2 separate regions of the Homo sapiens genome follow, and region 2 is linked to region 1. The links are contacts of gene promoters, found by promoter capture Hi-C in blood cells and fetal thymus (Javierre and others, 2016). All regions are on one chromosome and are shown on one strand. Each heading gives the region's core, a stretch centred on a gene start or on the middle of the fragment in contact. The rest is flanking DNA. Distances are from core to core; before and after follow the strand shown. Region 1 overlaps RNF167 (ring finger protein 167). Region 2 holds the start of INCA1 (inhibitor of CDK, cyclin A1 interacting protein 1).

Evidence for each region. Contacts are between HindIII fragments. The CHiCAGO score rates a contact against its expected background, and 5 or more counts as called.
Region 2: a contact is called between the fragment with the promoter of INCA1 here and a fragment that was not itself captured in region 1, in 3 of 17 cell types (M1 macrophages, M0 macrophages and neutrophils). The highest score is 6.4, in M1 macrophages.

The regions. Positions count from the first base shown.
Region 1 is chr17:4,944,398-4,948,431 of GRCh38, forward strand. It overlaps RNF167 (ring finger protein 167), which reads left to right. Exons shown (of 10, transcript NM_015528.3): 9 at 161-241; 10 at 318-825. The coding sequence ends at 619. It overlaps PFN1 (profilin 1), which reads right to left. Exons shown (of 3, transcript NM_005022.4): 1 at 3,866-4,034; 2 at 2,231-2,423; 3 at 1,255-1,600. The coding sequence starts at 3,997. The coding sequence ends at 1,503. Among named protein-coding and RNA genes, the nearest start is that of PFN1, 2.1 kb to the right of the region's middle. RefSeq lists enhancers at 1-358, 1-42, 913-962, 973-1,062, 1,123-1,292 and 1 more and silencers at 3,403-3,632, 3,663-3,732, 4,003-4,034. The HindIII fragment of the contact is 1,081 bases long and covers 711-1,791 here.
Region 2 is chr17:4,996,272-5,000,260 of GRCh38, forward strand. It overlaps INCA1 (inhibitor of CDK, cyclin A1 interacting protein 1), which reads right to left and starts at 1,251. Exons shown (of 7, transcript NM_001394789.1): 1 at 1,225-1,251. It overlaps KIF1C (kinesin family member 1C), which reads left to right and starts at 1,679. Exons shown (of 23, transcript NM_006612.6): 1 at 1,679-1,885; 2 at 3,579-3,699; 3 at 3,949-3,989. The coding sequence starts at 3,976. RefSeq lists silencers at 992-1,081, 1,122-1,991, 2,042-2,141 and an enhancer at 3,384-3,989. The HindIII fragment of the contact is 6,815 bases long and covers 1-1,837 here.

The sequences.
Region 1 (4,034 bases), core at 1-2,500:
CTAAATTCTTCCATGTTCTGCCCTGACCTTATCCTGCCTACCTGTCTTATCTCTTCCACTGGCTTTGTAGGTGAGGGGAAATTTTTGCAAGGCTTTAAAAGCCTTAGCCCTGGGTCATTGTGGCTCAGTGAAGGACTAGATTATTTTCTTTCTGTCCCAGGAGACCAGTATGATGTCTGTGCCATTTGCCTGGATGAATATGAGGATGGGGACAAGCTGCGGGTACTCCCCTGTGCTCATGGTGAGGCCCTCACTGCCTGCCCATGCCCCTCTGCCACCAGCAGCCACCAGGTGCTTCACCTTGTTCCTCTCTGCAGCCTACCACAGCCGCTGCGTGGACCCCTGGCTCACTCAGACCCGGAAGACCTGCCCCATTTGCAAGCAGCCTGTTCATCGGGGTCCTGGGGACGAAGACCAAGAGGAAGAAACTCAAGGGCAAGAGGAGGGTGATGAAGGGGAGCCAAGGGACCACCCTGCCTCAGAAAGGACCCCACTTTTGGGTTCTAGCCCCACTCTTCCCACCTCCTTTGGTTCCTTAGCCCCAGCTCCCCTTGTTTTTCCTGGGCCTTCAACAGATCCCCCACTGTCCCCTCCCTCTTCCCCTGTTATCCTGGTCTAATAACCCCCCACACATACACCTCTGGTGACCTATTTGCACAGACCGTCGTCTTCCCTCCAGTCTTCTGAGGGATAGGGGACATTCCATCCCAAGCTTCTCCCTTACCCACACCTATCCTTTTGAGGGGCTTTGGGGTGGAGCTGGGGCAAGCAGAGGGACTGGGTCTTCACTTCTTGGGCTAATAAAATTGTTTCTTTGTGGACTAAGGAAGGGTAAGATCATTCTCACACAGGTGAACTTAACCCTTTGGTGGAATCACCCCTTTAGCCATAAGGAGCAAGGGAATGCTGAGAGACACTAACCTATAGTCATGGGGACAGCCCCAGCCGGCATTTGCTATGACTCAGAAGGGGGAGCCCCACCCACAAGGATGACTCAACTAGCCCTGCCTTGCCTGCAGGCCTGCACCCATTCTCTGGTCCAGATGGCTCTATTCCATCATCCACCAATTTGACCAGCACACTGAGGACTTAGGCCTGGAAATGCCACTGTGGAGGGGCAGGGCCACCTGGCCAGAAGCTCAAATTCCTGCACCTTGTAGTACCTCAACCTCCCTGCTCCCAAGCCACGATAAAGGAGGCAAGTCACAGTGCCTATCCCCCATTCTGACACCCAAGCTCAAATCACACAGCACCTTGTTAGTAGAATCTTTTTTATTCAGAAAAAAAAAACCCCAAAAAACAAAAGTTTTCCAACCACACACGGGAGGGATATGGGTAGGGGGAGGTGTCTGTCCATCCAGCCCTGGCCCCCAGCCCATGTGGTTTTGGCAGCAATAAGGGGTATGGGGTAATGGCCCAAAAAATAAAATGGTTTGTGTGTGTATGGGGAGGAAAGGGGTGCAAAGCTGTGGGGAGCGGTGAAGGGGAAGGGACAGACGAGGTCAGTACTGGGAACGCCGAAGGTGGGAGGCCATTTCATAACATTTCTTGTTGATCAAACCACCGTGGACACCTTCTTTGCCCATCAGCAGGACTAGCGCTGGAGGAGGAGGAAAGAGAAAGGAGGCTAGGATCCAGGTGTCACAATTCCACCCCCTGCCAGCTGTTCAGCAGCTGTCCAGCCCTGGGGGCTGTAACCCAACCTCATCTCTCCCAACCCGCCCCCCCACCACACACAGGCAGGCTGTCAGTCACCCTGAAACAATAAGGCTTTTCAAAAGAGGAAAATCAAGCTTAAACGCTGGAGAGGAACAGACTAAAAACTTAGGGGTCAAAGGCTCATAGACTGTTGATTCATGTGTTCAGGCTAGAAAGGGCTGTGGATGTGCATGCCACCTCCAGGTTCTAACAAAAGAACTCAAACGATGAACTCGATGATTCAAGACCCCAACAATCTACCTATACTCCTAGAAAACAGTTTCTAATCCGAGCTCAAGGCAGTAAGTAATTTAAGAGGTAATGCAGTTCAGCAACTTCGAATTACAAGATGAGGAACTGAGACAGAATGGAGGGACTATCCCGTGTTCCAGCATCCAGCAGACAAGGAACACAATACTGGTCTGACTCCCTTCATGTTGGGGAATCACACAAAAAAGCACCCTCAAGATTACCAGAAGGCGGTACATTAGAGATCTTGGAGCTAAAGGAAGGGTAAGACTCAGGAACTCACTCTTGTCAGTCTTGGTGACAGTGACATTGAAGGTGGGGGCCCCACCGGTGCTCTTGGTACGAAGATCCATGCTAAATTCCCCATCCTGCAGCAGTGAGTCCCGGATCACCGAACATTTCTGGCCCCCAAGTGTCAGCCCATTCACGTAAAAACTTGACCGGTCTTTGCCAACCAGGACACCCACCTCAGCTGGCTGGAAGAGGAACCAAGCGCCCATCAAGTTAGTCAGTGCACCAAGATTCCCACCGTGTTCTCCAAAGACCCACCTGTCTTCCACTTCTGAGAACCACCCCGCCGTGGGGGCTAAGTATAAATTATATACTCAGTACACATCAATGAACTGTGAGAAACTCTGAGGACTGTGGGACGTTAGTGCAGAAAAAGATCATGATTCTGAAACTTAGAATATGGAACCAGGGAGGAAGGGATGACATACTCCTCTAGAGATTTAGATGTCAGTGTTAATGGGGAAAGTAAACCCAGGAAATAAAGGGAGTCAGTGAGGTAAGTGAGGAGCCTTTGGATGCTCAGAACTCTCCTTCAGGAAAAGCAGAAGCGGAGAGGGGAAGGGAGGGGGGCGGGCGAGGCAAGAGAAGCAACTTTGCCCTTATTTGGTCAAAGGTTCTGCAGGAGCTGTTAGGGCCCGGACGCCTGGGTCTCCAAGTAACCTAGAGTTTAGCTCCAGGTATCTCTGCTCTGAGATGAGGAAGCAGACCCCTGGGGGCTTTCCGGGAAAGTTGGAAAACTTTTGAAGGTGGACAGGGGCCAGACCCGGCAGGCCAGCTCTCGGGTCTAGGTACCCCGGGAACCTTTCCCCCCTCCCCCTTTCACCCCAAGCCCCCACATCCGGTCCCCTCCCGCCCGGAAACCCCCTTCCCCCCCCTTTTGAACTTCCGCTCCCCCTCCCCACTTCCGGGCAGTGTGGACAGGGAGATGGTGGTGGGAGCAGCGGTAGTAAACCAATATACTTTCGCTTATGCTGTCTCAGAACTTCTCACAAAGTTCCCCTGCTCCAGGCCCCGCCGGATGGCGGGAAGGGAGGGCGAGGGGACTTCCGGGATTGGCCTCGCAGGAATGTTGAATCCAACGTGCTGAGCTGGGGGGGCGTGTGGTGGCCTCGCCCTCTCTAACGGAGTTAGGAGGGGCCAGAAGCCCACAGAGGGTGGGCAAGGGACCAAGACCACGCGCCTGGGGCTCCCTTCCGCACCAGGAGAAACAATGGTAGAGGGACGCGGGCTGGCAGCCGGACGGGGAGCTGGGGGTCCAAGGATCCCCGGGTCCCCTCTCAATCCCAATCCCCAGTAAAAACTGAGGCGCGTCCCCGCCCCGCCCTGGGAGAGGCGGAAGTGGGCCGCCGCACCGGGCGCCGCGCCCCTCCCCGCCCTGTGCCCCGGATGTAACGCCCCGTCGCGGAAAGCGGGGTAGCGGGCGGGATGGGCGCCGCCGCCTGGGGCATAGGACCTACGGGCAACTGAGGGACCCACTCACGTGCAGCCGCCATTCGCGCCGCTTCCAGGGCAAGCACCCAGTCAGGGCCTCTCGCTGCGCGCCCTAGACCGCGCCCGCCCCCACCCAAGTCCCTCCCTCAGGGTCCAAACCGGAGCAGTGCCCCGGACCGCGCAGGCCTCGCAGTACCGTGATGTTGACGAACGTTTTCCCGGGGACGGCGGCCCAGACGGAGGGCGAGTCCTTGTAGCCCACGATGGCCGCGTCCTGACAGGTCCCGTCCGCCATGAGGTTGTCGATGTAGGCGTTCCACCCGGCCATGGCGCTGCTACTGGGGCTGCTCTCGGCGCTGCTGCTG
Region 2 (3,989 bases), core at 1-2,500, 52 kb after region 1:
AAGGCTGAGGTGGGAGTGTCATCTGAGCCCGGGAGGTCAAGGCTGCAGTGAGGTAAGATCGCACCACTGCACTGCACTCCAGCCTAGGCGTCAGAGTGAGACCCTGTTTCTAAGAAGAAAAAAAAAAAAGCCAGGCGCGGTGGCTCAAGACTGTAATCCCAGCACTTTGGGAGGCTGAGGTGGGCGGATCACTTGAGGTCAGGAGTTCGAGACCAGCCTGGCCAACACAGCGAAACCCAGTCTCTACTAAAAATACAAAAATTAGCCGGGTGTGGTGGCAGGCATCTGTAATCCCAGCTATTCGGGAGGCTGAGGCAGGAGAATCGCTTGAACCCAGGAGGCGGAGGTTGCCGTGAGCCGAGGTCAGCCTGGGCAACAGAGCAAGACTCCGTCTCAAAAAAAAAAAAAAAAAAAAAAAAAGAATACTAGATAAGTTAGGAGAGAGTGCACATAGGCTCCCGAAGGACAGAAGCAGCCAGCTGGAACTGTAGAGGTGAACTAGTATTTATCCAAGGGAACTAGGGATGGGCTGGGAAAGCAGGTGAGGTCAAAAGCGGAGAGAAGTATACCGTGCGGAAGCGGCAGATGGGGCTAGTTGGAGTTGGGCTGAAAGGGCCTAAAGTGGGGTCTAAAGGGGATGTCCTGACTCGGAGGGGGGTCAGCAGAACGCGAGGGAGCAGCGGGAGCTGCGGGGCATTCGGGCCTCAGATAGTTGGGTCCAAGCGGGTGACCTAGATCCAAGGGCAGGATGGAGCTGAAGGAAGCCAGGAAGGATCCTCCACAGTTGACTTCGGGGTAGCCACGGCCTGCGCCTGCGAGGGTGGATGAGGACCCGAGGGTCCGGCTGGGGCTGAGGGGCTGCCTGGAGCCCCGCTGGAGGGAAGCGCCGGGCCGGAGGGCGCGGCCTGCGCCTGAAAGGGCGACGGGGACCCTCGACAGGTGGACCGGGCGTGGCCGGACCTTCCGGGCAGCCCCGCCCGAGGGCACGACTGGGGGCTGCTTCCCTCGAGAGGGGCCCTGAGGTGGTGGGCCCAGGCTGAAGGGCAGGCTGGGGCCTGAGGGACGCCCCGGGTCTGAGAGGGCAGCTCCGGCCTTAGGCGGCACCCGGGCCTGAAGGGGTTGTTTGGGCCTCAGGCGGCGTCCAGGGCGGCCGAACTTGAGGGCCAGGCGGGGACAGAGCGCCCGAGTAGCCGCGCCACGGCCGGCCGCATTTGGCCCCAGCACCTGAAGCAGCTGCGCGGCGAATTCTAGAACTCGGCGGGGCGGGGAGGAGAGAGACGGCGATTCGAGCCGCGGGAGGAGCCGGCGGGCGGTGCTCGTCTGAGGGCGGGGCCTGAGCGGAGCCACCTTCTGGGCGGGCCTCGGCAGGAGGCTCCGCCCCCTGGACGCGCCTCCAACGGCGGCGACGGGAACTGGGCCGGGGCCTGGGTGCCCCCGCGGGTCAGCCCCCGACGTTTCCCTGTTCTTCAGGCGTCTGCAACCCTCCTGGGTTGCGGCGTCTGCTCGCCCTTCTGCGTCCGCAGCTCGGTCCCCACGTTCCCGCTCGCTGGGCCCCACAGGCCAGGAGCGTTGCCCCTTTAACAAGAGTAGCCCGGGTCGCTCCCGGCTCCTTCCCGGGACCGCGCGTACCCGCCCCTCCGCGCGCGCTCGCGCGTCCCCCGCCCCTCGCTCCCGCCCCAGCTCGCGCTGCCCGGGCGGGCGCCGGCCGCTGGCGCCGCTACTGCTGCCGCCCCCGGGGCGCGAGTCCGCCGCCCGCCGCCCGGGCACCCGGCGAGGGGCGGGGGCAGCTCCGAACCGGCCCCAGATCCTTCCCGCTTCCGCCTCACGCTTCCCGGAAAGCTTGTCCCTCTCCGCCGAGCTGCTCCGGGAGCCCCGCCGCGCCGAGGTGAGGGCTGGGGAAGGGGGAGGGAAGGGACGCCCGCGGAGGAATGTGCCGGGTTGGGGGGCGGGGAGCCGGGGTCCGGCGGCGCGATCTAGGCTCAAGAGTCGGGATCATGTGCTGTTTGTTCCGCGGAGGCGCAGAGAGGTGCCAGGCCCGGGCGGCCGCCGGCTGGCTGGACAGGAGGACGGGTCCGCATGGCCGCCCTGAGAGGCCGGGCGGGGACCTGTGTGAGAACCGCCGGGTGGGCAAGGTGCAGGTGGCCCAAGACCCCCTTTCGGGCCGGTCGGCCCCACCCCAGCCGCCCAGTATCCTCCTTGTACCCCACGGCTCCTTCACAGCTGCACCGGCCGACCCCTGTCCCTACCTCTATTCCCTTACCCCGCTGGCCCCCAGCCGTGCCACCCCATCCCTGTCCCATTAGCTGCAGCAACGGCGTCACCATCGCTTGTCCCCACCAGTGTCCTTCCCTCCCCTGGTCAGGGTCTAGGGGGTCAGGGCTGTTCTTCCTGAGCCAGCTTCTGTGATTCCAGCTACTCCCTTCCTGTCCTGGGACAGACCAGCCCCTCACCCTCCCATGCTCTGCCCAGGAAGACTGGTGAGGGGAGGCCCAGCGTGACAGGAGTTTGGGGTCCACTGGGGCCACAGGAGGGGGCTCCGCATCCCTTATCCTTCGTGGTCCTCCTCCCTGTTGTCCGTGGGCGTGGGCTGCTCAGCCTCTCCTCCCAGGGTGTGGGCACCCGATCACCCACATTCCTGGGCTCCAGCCTGGCACCTTCCCCAGGGCAGTGGACGCCATAGCACTAGCCCCAGGTTGGGGCTGGCACCAGCCAGCCGGCTTCCTTTTCTTTCTCCCTTTTAGGGAGGCCCCAGGGACCCTCTACCCTCAAACACAGGTATTTCTGGGCGCCCCAAGGGTGGAGCCCTGAGGGTTGGTCTGATGGCTACAGGATGACCCCACCCTCCCCTGCTCATTGTCCCGGATCCTGAGGAGGAAGTGCTGGGGGCTGGGCAAGGGGCTTAGAGCCCACACAGCTGGCCCTGTGGATCCCAGTCCTGGGCCCTACCTACAGTCCTTGGACTTTGCCCATCTGCACTACTGGCCTGGTGCATGGAGGTTGTGGGCCTCAGGTGGAAACTAGATTCTCCCTTGCCGACACTGTGGGGGAATTTGAGGACAGGTTTTGCATTTGCAGTTTCCTCTCTGGTCTCTCTTCTGGGCTCCCAGTTTGTGCTTTGGCGCCGGAGTTCCCCACCCTGTCTCTTTAACACCGTGTGTTTGCTGTGCTGTGTCTCTTCCTCCTTTCCTCTCCCATTCTTTCCTTCATAGCATGACCTCAGGCTTGCCTTTTGTCTTATTTCTCTAATTTTCTTGGTGTCTGTGACTCTCTGCCCCTCCTCTCTCTCTTCCCACCCCCCTCACGTCTCTGCCCATGTGCCCCTCTCTCTGAATTGCCCTCTGTCCAGCCTCTTTCTCTCTCTGTCCTCTATCTGAACGTTCAGTACATTTGCGAGTGACAAGGAATAAAAATATCACCGTCCCTGCCCTTGGATTCACATTGCATTCAGCCACTCTAGAGGGGCAGCTGTCCGTACTTTTCCTGCTATTCCCCCCGTAACCTTGGCCCTCCAACCTGGGAACCCCAGACGGGTCTCTGGAACCACAGGTGCCTTCTAACAACTCTTCCCCCGCAATCAGGGTATCTCCCAGAGCCCCAGCTGGTGTGGCCAGGCCCCAGGAGTAGGATGGGGCTCCCCCTACGAGGGCCGGTGGCAGCCAGAACTGATACAGCCCCCCTGGTCTGGGGCCAGGACGCCAGGTAACTGGGGGAGACCGCCCAGGTTCCTGCAAGCTGGAATATGGCTGGGGAGAGAGGCAGAAATACCTTTGGGAGTCTCTCAAGACAGTGACATTTGGGAGGAAAGCCAAGGGAATAAGAGCTGGGTCCTTGAGAGGCTGGGTGGCTCTGGGGGAGATGTGAAGAGACTGGTTCCGGGAAGAAGCTGGGAGGCAATGTCTGGGTCCCTGCAGTGGTTCTGACCCCACCACTCCTTTCTCTGTCCTCCAGCTGAGGAGGGCAGGAGTGTCTGGAGCTATGGCTGGTGCCTC